Regions from separate parts of the Homo sapiens genome. Here region 1 is linked to region 2. The links are contacts of gene promoters, found by promoter capture Hi-C in blood cells and fetal thymus (Javierre and others, 2016). All regions are on one chromosome and are shown on one strand. The core of a region is centred on a gene start or on the middle of the fragment in contact, and the rest is flanking DNA. Distances in the headings are between cores, read along the strand shown. Region 1 overlaps GSK3B (glycogen synthase kinase 3 beta). Region 2 holds the start of GPR156 (G protein-coupled receptor 156).

Region 1 (4,080 bases), core at 1,340-3,839, 370 kb before region 2:
AGAAACTGAGTTCATAGGCATAAATTTACTAAAAAAAGAGATTTTACTGTGTCAGGGTATTGATGTCTAGGTCTGCAAGAATCAGTGAAAACGAGTTTTCTTTTTTTTTTTTAAAAAAAAAAAGCTTAATCGTTTAAATGAGGTTAATTTTAAGATGTCTTTTTACTGTATTCTTTCATCTGAAAGATCTACTCTATCTTCATTGTTTTGAAAAGTTTATCTAGAAAAGTCAAGATAAAGAATGAAATATGCAATATTATATATTTGTTGTTATTTCACTTTGTAAAAGTGTATTTATAAGAAAGCTGAGAGGCTTTCTAGACTAGAATGATAGCAAAAACAAGAACAGAAAAACAACTTATCATGGGCTGGGCACTGTTCTAACTGCTTTATGTGTATTATTTCACTTACTCCTTATAATAACCTTATGTAATAAGTACTAATATTATTACCATTTTAAATATAAAATAACTGAGGCCCAGAGAGATTAAGCAACTTGCTCAATATCACACACACACAATATTCTGTAGTGGTTTGAGTAAGTGCTTCTCTTTCAATTACTATTTATGTATTTTGCCATATTTTATTAAATAAAGGTGTAAAATATAATCATTAAATAGCTTGGTGGAGGCCGGGCGCGGTGGCTCACACCTATAACCCTAGCACTTTGGGAGACCAAGGCAGGCGGGTTGCCTGAGCTCAGGAGTTCGAGACCACCCTGGGGGCAACATGGTGAAACCCCGTCTCTACTAAAATGCAAAAAATTAGCCGGTCTTGGTGGTGCACGCCTGTAATCCCAGCTCGGAAGGCTGGGGCAGGAGAATTGCTTGGACCCGGGAGATAGAGGTTGCAGTGAACCCAGAATGCACCACTGCACTCCAGCCTGGGCCACAGAGCGGAATTCTCTCTCTCTCAAAAAAACAAAAACAAAACAAAACAAAAAAAAAGCAGTTTGGTGGCTAAATAAAAGACTAGAATGATTAATTCTTAGAAACTCAAATATAATTAACACACTTTAAAATATAACAGATTTAACATATACTAAGTGCCAAACCAAGAAAAGCATTTCTGCCTATTTGCCTATTTGTTTAGTTAATTCTTGCAACCACTCTGAGATACACATTATCCCTGTTTTTACAGAAGATATTGAGGTTCAATGAAAACAATTTTTTTTATTTTTCATTTTATTCAAAGTTGGTACAAAACTGTTAACATTTCCATAAAACAATTACTATGCTTCAGTTACAGGACAAAATATCACAGAAAGGAATGTATTTTGCAGTTGAGCACAATTTGAACAGTTAGTTATATTTAACTCAAATCCAATGCCCTCTTCTCTGTGCCATAATATCTGAAGTAATAAAATAATAAAACAATAGAATACATGTTAAAACAAGTAATAACAATTTTGTTCATGATTCAAAAAATGCATCCAACTCTCTTGTGTGATCAGACCCTGTCCTTAAACATGTATTTTCAATTAAAAAAAAATTAAGTTCACAACAATGATTTGCCAGTCATCTGTTTTAGAGTTGCATTTTAAAACCTACTTAAGTTCTGAAATATACTCATCAGAAAAGCAAAGGTGCTCAGTTTTTAACCTGTGTATTACTCATAGAAAATACTCAACTCTCCCAGAAAAAGTGAAAGGCAATTATAAAGAAATGCAGTTGCCATTCTGGTAACATGTATGCCAAACAAGTCCTTATCAGATGATGAGGTTCATGAAGGCAAGAGTTACTTGCATTTACTACTTTTATATCGCTCTCACAATCTAACATTTTTCATACAATAGGATTACAATAAAACTATGTAGAATGACTACGTGAAGGAGATCAACTCATAACTCATCAATTCCAGACACTGTTTTTATCTTTTCAGATAAAAGGGATCGATGTCCCCAAAGAATAATGCCCAGAGCCAATAGATCTGGCCTCTGAAAGCGCTGTGGTTACATAAGAAAAAAAAAAAAGAAAAAAAAAAAAAAGAAAAATCATCCCTTTTCCCACAAGGGGGAGAAAGAAAGGAGTGCTAGATTTCTCTCTGTATGCCAACTTCAGTATGTACAATAATTTTATTTTCTTTTTTAAAATACAGGATGCCAGATATCTAGCTCAACTATTTGCTGGCAAAAATACCGTAAGTGCACAGGGTTGTTCACTATAGCAAAAACCAAAAAAACCACAACAAAAAACAAGAGGAAAACAATATGTGCATTATTGGTCACTGGGTGAATTAACTAGAATACAGCCACATGATGAAGTAATATGGTAGCCATAAAGAAGGTGACACACACACACACACACACGAAAATATGGACTGATCTCTAGGACATATTTTTAACTGAAAAAAAAGAGAAAAATGTGTACCTTATGTAACCATTTATATAAAAAGAGTAAGAATAACTGCATGTTTGCTTATTTTAAAAATGGTAGGATAAATTATGAACACTTAAAAAATACTTAACACTGGTAGAGGAAAGGAACAGAGCAGAGGGAACAGAGATAAAAGCTGAACTTCTTTGAACATACCTTGTTTTGTCAATCTTGCTTTGAACTATGTATAAATATTTTATATGAATTTTAAAGTAAATTTTATTTGAAAATTTAGAAAACCACAATCTATAATAAAAGTAAACTGAAACAAACAAATGCTTAATGGAACATCATCACACAGAGAGGAATTATTCAATTTTTTTGAGATGAAGTCTTGCTCTGTCACCCAGGCTGAAGTGCAGTGGCATGATCTTGGCTTACTGCAACCTCTGCTTCTCAGGTACAAGTGATTCTCCTACCTCAGCCTCCTGAGTAGCTAGGATTACAGGTGTGCTCCAGGATGCCCAGCCAATTTTTATATTTTTTAGTAGAGGTGGGGTCTCGCCATGTTGGCCAGGCTGGTCTTGAACTCCTGACGACCTCTGGTGATCTGCACACATCAGCCTCCCAAAATGCTGGATTACAGGCATGAGCCAATGTGCCTGACCTCAGTGTTTCTTTAGAACAGAGAAATTTGATTGTTCATCCCTAATGGGATCTAATGGGTAAAACTGAGCTGTGCTTAGATCTTAAATTATTTTTAGCTGGTGGTCCTAGTGTTGGAATTGTTATTCTAAGATGGTTATGTAGGGTGCTGGGTAGAATAAGTTATTAATTATACTACTATCATTGAGAAATGAAATTTTCAATGTAAGAGAAAGGAAATACAAATATAAGATTATTACAGTTAAGTAAAAACTCATCGATTTTATTTGAAAGTATCAGTATGAACTCATGGTGTATTTATTTTTGGAAAAAAAGAAGATGCATTACATCTGAGAAAATTACCCACATATTTCCTAGCTCTGTTCGCTAAAAAGACCCAGAAACAATAACCAATCCCGTGACAATTAGCACCTCTAGCATCCAGACTGTGGTCTCTAAATACCACCTCCCACTAAAAGAACAAGGTCTTCTTGAAGAAAAGGTTGATTCTAAGTCTGAGGAAGAAATGTGTAAGATGAACTTGGAATACTTTGTCATGTTAGAAAGCAAGGAAACGGTCAAATATTATTAAGACTCACATAAGATACTTTAAAACAACAAAACACCTCATTCATTGGTACCTATGGAGGATGCTATGGAATAGACTATTATAAATTTTCGTAAATAAAGAAAAGGGATCAAATACATTTCCTGTCTTTTTATATAAACTATATCTCAGGGCACAAATAGTTGATATGGGAAAATCTCTCTTTATGAAACTATTCCAGCTTATAAATTAAGAAGGAATAATAACAGTAGACTATCAACATTTTGTAACCTTTAATGAATTAATGAATTTAGGCAGTGATCATCAATGGCTACTAACGTCAGGAAAAGAAAGACATTATGTTCTTCCTTCAGAAAGCACTCAATACTACAAATGAAGTGGTCCTGACTCCTACCAAAAATATATTTAATTATCAGTTATCTAACCACCAATTTGCAGGAAATATAGATGACCAAAGAACATACTAATTACACTACAGAAATTCAGCAAAATCCAGACCAAGAAAGTATAGGTCAAATGATCCGGTTTCTTTAGCAACAAAGTTCAAGAGAG
Region 2 (4,312 bases), core at 1,155-3,654:
TGAGGGGAAGCCATTGGAGGGTGTTAAGCAGGAGAGTAATATCATCCAACTGACTGACATTTTAAGAATGGGAAAAAGAAGGCAGTTAAGGGGTCTGCTCAAGATTCTTATGGGAAAGTCAGAAGAATAAGATCCATATTTTTTTCTTAAAATGTTAATATCCTTCACACATCTATATTTGAAACACCTTCTGATTCAAGCTCTGTCCAGGACCAGATCACATATGTCTGGATTCTAAACACTGATTTTTATTAACAAGTTTGTTTTAAGATAATAAGTTTATAAAATGAGAGGTAGAAAACATCTCTGTATGTCTAAAATTTTTCATAATAAAGTACTGGAGAAAAAAAGGTGAGATAGTGATTTGCATCCTTTATCAGGCAAAATTCATCAGCAACTAAACATGAATGTTCTGATTCTCAAGACCTTTGCAAAATAAAGGCTCTGATTTTTTTTTTTCAACTAAATGTAGAACATTTCTTTCAACCCCCAAATCCACCTTTGCAGCCCAAGTCAGTCCACGTTGCACTGTTTCTGCAGCATGTCAGAGCCTCTGGCTTCTTTCCTCTCTCCCCCTTCCCCCAATTAATCTCTGAAACCTACATAAGAATGGAATAAAATGCAAATTCAAGGAGAAGGATGCAGTTTTCAGAGAAGGCCTCATCCTCCTCCTACCCTATAATGGAAATTCCCTTATGGTTAAACAACAAAAATGGAAATATTAAAACCCTCAGCTGAAAACAAACACTTAAGCACCTATTCTCCTTTCCAGAGAATCTGTTTCCCTCAATCATTATTTTTCCACTCTTTTGAGAGCCTTCTAGGCTGAAAGTTGTTTCATCTCACCCATCTTGGGTCTCTCCTAGGTCTCATTTCTGCCTTCACCAGGCTTGAAGTTCTATATCCCTAGGCTATCAGAACTTTGACTCTGACCAGGCTCAATTCTAGACTTTACTGGGGAATGGGGAGAAGCTAAAAGCTGGGGGTGGAAGAGAAGGGGAAACAGAGGGAACATTCCAGAGACAGTAGTGTCCCTGAAGGGGAATTAGGCTGGCAAAATGGGGACCAGAAAGCCACCTCTATTCCTCACAAGGGACACCTAACTCAAGCACAGCCTGCTAAAGCACTTTATTCTCCAGACTCAAATTGCCTTAACCTGTAAGCAAACGCTTCCCCAGCCATTTATCCGCAAGCGCATTTGCCCCACCTGCAGCAATGAAAGAAGCACTGTTTTTGCAAGCCGGGCTGCTACCCAGACTGCGAGGAGACATTCTGTGCAGAATTCAGCCACTGGTGGAGAAAAAGAAGTTTTTCTTTGCAGGCCTTGCTGCCTAATACAACTATATCAACAATTTCTCCCGCTGTGTAAGCCCCATCTGAAAATCTTTCCCTTTTATCTAGGATGCAAAAATGTAATGTTATCCTCCATATTCTGGTTTAAAGAACTACACCAGGAAAGACATTTTATGATAGGCTAGGGCATCATTTACCTCTAATTCAAGCATGCATGTACCTAGAAAACTAACAAAGGGGTAAGTTATGCCATGCCATGACTTCTCTTCCCAGATTTCTATCCTGAAATCTTAACAAAATTCGATTTTAAAAACCTCAAGGTTTGTATTCTTCACGAGTACATGGATACCTTGAGTTCTACCTAGAGGCCTCTAGTTTCTGACAGAGCTAACTTGGAAAGGGCTGCTTGCCAGGGTACAAGGATGTTGCAGCTTCCAGGTGACTCCCTCATGCCCAGAAGCAAGGCAGTTCAACAGACGCAGTGCAATACAATTGTCCCTTTTCAGGACTTTGCAATCTCCATGGGGGAGCCCATCGTGCCCGCCACTCTACACCCTGGGGGTGAACATGCCCTGCAAAGCAGATTCGGCGTGAGGAGACTCTGGAAAGTCTACAGGCGGTGGGAAACTGTTTCGGGATCTCTCATTTTCAGCACAGCCGGTCGCTTATTCAGCAGAAAACCCACGGCCCCATCTTCACACCAAATTACAGTACTCTCCCGTCTCTTCCACTGAAATTGCCACTCGCATCCCTGATGCGTGACCCCTGCTCACCTCAAGTTCCTATGAGAGTTTCTTTACCGGTTCCAAACAAACTGCCCAGATTCTGGAAAGGGAGAGAAAGCCCCTCCCCCTTTCCACTTTCACTTAATAATTAAGTGTTTGAAGTTTTGTGGATCCTTAAGGTCGCTGTGCTCACCTCATCAGCGTCGGACCGCCGAGAAGCGCCAAGCCCGCTGCTATGTGCAGGACGCCCACGGTCCCCCGGCGTCTCGCGCGTTCGCGGGGCTGGAAGGGGCGGGAAGGGGCGGGCCGGGGCAGAGACAGGGGCCCGCGCCCATCGCCGCGCCGGGAGCCTGGCGTGGAGGCGGCGGGACGGCGGCGCAGGCCTCTGAGGTGTGCGCGGGGCGCCGGGCGCCTCTGGCCGGGGCACTGGCTGAGCCACGCCTGCCCGCCCCTCCCTGGCGCCGCCCGCGTGGCGCGCCTCGACCCTGCTCTCCCGCGAGGGCCGGGAGGGCTCCGGGACCTTGCAGACTCCACGCGCCTCACGGCTCCTCCAGCTCCTCGGATCTTTCTCCTTGCGTCGCCGCCGAGTCCCCTGGGGCGGCCCCGCCTCCGGCCGTCTCCTCAGAGACCTTCCCTGGGGGGCGCCTTCCCCTCAGCGCCCCTTCCCGGGCCTCGAGCCAGCGGCTGCCGCAGGAGCTGGCCCCGGGGCGAGGAGCTTCAGATTCAGGTCCCTAGCCGGCCTCGGTAAGGAGACTGGAAGGATTCTCCGCGAATGCTCATTTTTATTTCTGGAGTGGCGTCGGAGTTACCAATTAGTTTTCTTATTTTATACTCTCTGGAGTTGCCAAATTCTTTACGTTGAGCTTTTGCTTATTTTATAATCAGAAAGACAAGTACGTTTCTTTTTCCAAGAATGCTTACAGGAGGCCACAAACAAGATGTTCGCACCCAGCCCACTGTCTTCCGCTTAAAAATATGTGTGAGATGTTGTGTTTAAGACACCCTCAAGGAGAAACATAGAGGGGAGACCTGGAAATGGTCTTGGGAATCCACTTAGACTTTCCATATTATATTTGTTTCATTTATTTTAAAATCTCAGACCTATTTATGTGCATTAGGACATTCCACATTTTTACAACTGCGCAGAGGAAATCTTTGGTTGTAGAGGACGGGAAGAGAGAGGCCAGGTCCGCAGACCCCACTGTGACAAGACAGTGGCTACATTCTTAACTGTTTTACACATTGTGATACCCAAAGACTTCTTTTCACAGGATTCTACTGAGGGGGAAAACAAGAGGAAGAAAGAAAGATAGACAAGGTTTTCCTCAAGGCAGTAAGCAAAAAGCTGGTTTCTCAGAAGAAAGAATTATGTCTGAGATTTTACCCAGGACTCTCCAGATCTCTCATTCTACACAGAAGGACCCTTTCATTTGGAACGTGCAGAAACTGAGGAGGACCATCTCTCTCCTCCATGGGGGCTGCCTGAGTTAAAAAGGCCTGGGTCCATCTTTTTTCCGTAGGAGAGCTGACTTCAGAGTCTAGAGCCAAATCTTCACTTCTGTGGCTCTAGATTGAGGATTTGCCCTTCTGATCTCTGTGGGGCTTTTTTTTTTTAACCTGGGAATTCCCCTGGGCTCTTCGGCTGTTATTCTCATCAACCCCTCTCTATATTCTGCAAGACATTGAAATCTTTCTCCCAGCTTGGCCCCCACCTCCAATCCCAGTATTCTCTTTTCTGAGATTGGAGTATTTCCAACCCCTCAGTTGCCAGGCACTGAAGGTTTTCATCTTCCAGGCCTGCCATGTTTACCTCTGAGATGTTTCTGGCAACTGTCCACTTCTCTGCATTCTCACACTGCTGCTCTTGATAAGCTTCGATTATCTGGGGCTGAATTGTTTCAATAATTTCCTAACTGATTTTCTTGCCTCCTATCTGTCCCCACCACCAACATAGACTTAAGAATGTCACTCTCTTGACAAAACAAGCCAACATCCTCTATCCTCTGTCCCACTCCCAAACCTGCAGTAACTTTCCTGTGCAATTGTAATACAGTGTAAACTTTCATAAGGATGGGGAGTGGCCAAGATGGCTGACCAGAAGCAGGTAATGTACATGGCTCTCACGGAGAGGAACAGAAGGGACGAGTAGATACAACACCTTCAACTGAAACATCCGGGTACTCGCATTGGGATTAATCAAGGAAACAACCTGACCCACAGAGAACAAGGAAAAGCAAGACAGGACAACAGCCCACCTGGGAGCAACAGGGAACCAGGGGATCTTCCCCTGCCCA

The links. Contacts are between HindIII fragments. The CHiCAGO score rates a contact against its expected background, and 5 or more counts as called.
Region 1: a contact is called between a fragment that was not itself captured here and the fragment with the promoter of GPR156 in region 2, in 1 of 17 cell types (neutrophils). The highest score is 5.7, in neutrophils.

The regions. Positions count from the first base shown.
Region 1 is chr3:119,917,560-119,921,639 of GRCh38, forward strand. The region is part of intron 4 of GSK3B (glycogen synthase kinase 3 beta); the gene reads right to left. Among named protein-coding and RNA genes, the nearest start is that of NR1I2, 140 kb to the left of the region's middle. The HindIII fragment of the contact is 4,934 bases long and covers 123-4,080 here.
Region 2 is chr3:120,282,818-120,287,129 of GRCh38, forward strand. It overlaps GPR156 (G protein-coupled receptor 156), which reads right to left and starts at 2,405. Exons shown (of 10, transcript NM_153002.3): 1 at 2,212-2,405. LOC124909418 (a long non-coding RNA gene) reads left to right here and starts at 2,339. Exons shown (of 2, transcript XR_007096029.1): 1 at 2,339-4,312. The HindIII fragment of the contact is 9,811 bases long and covers 1-3,888 here.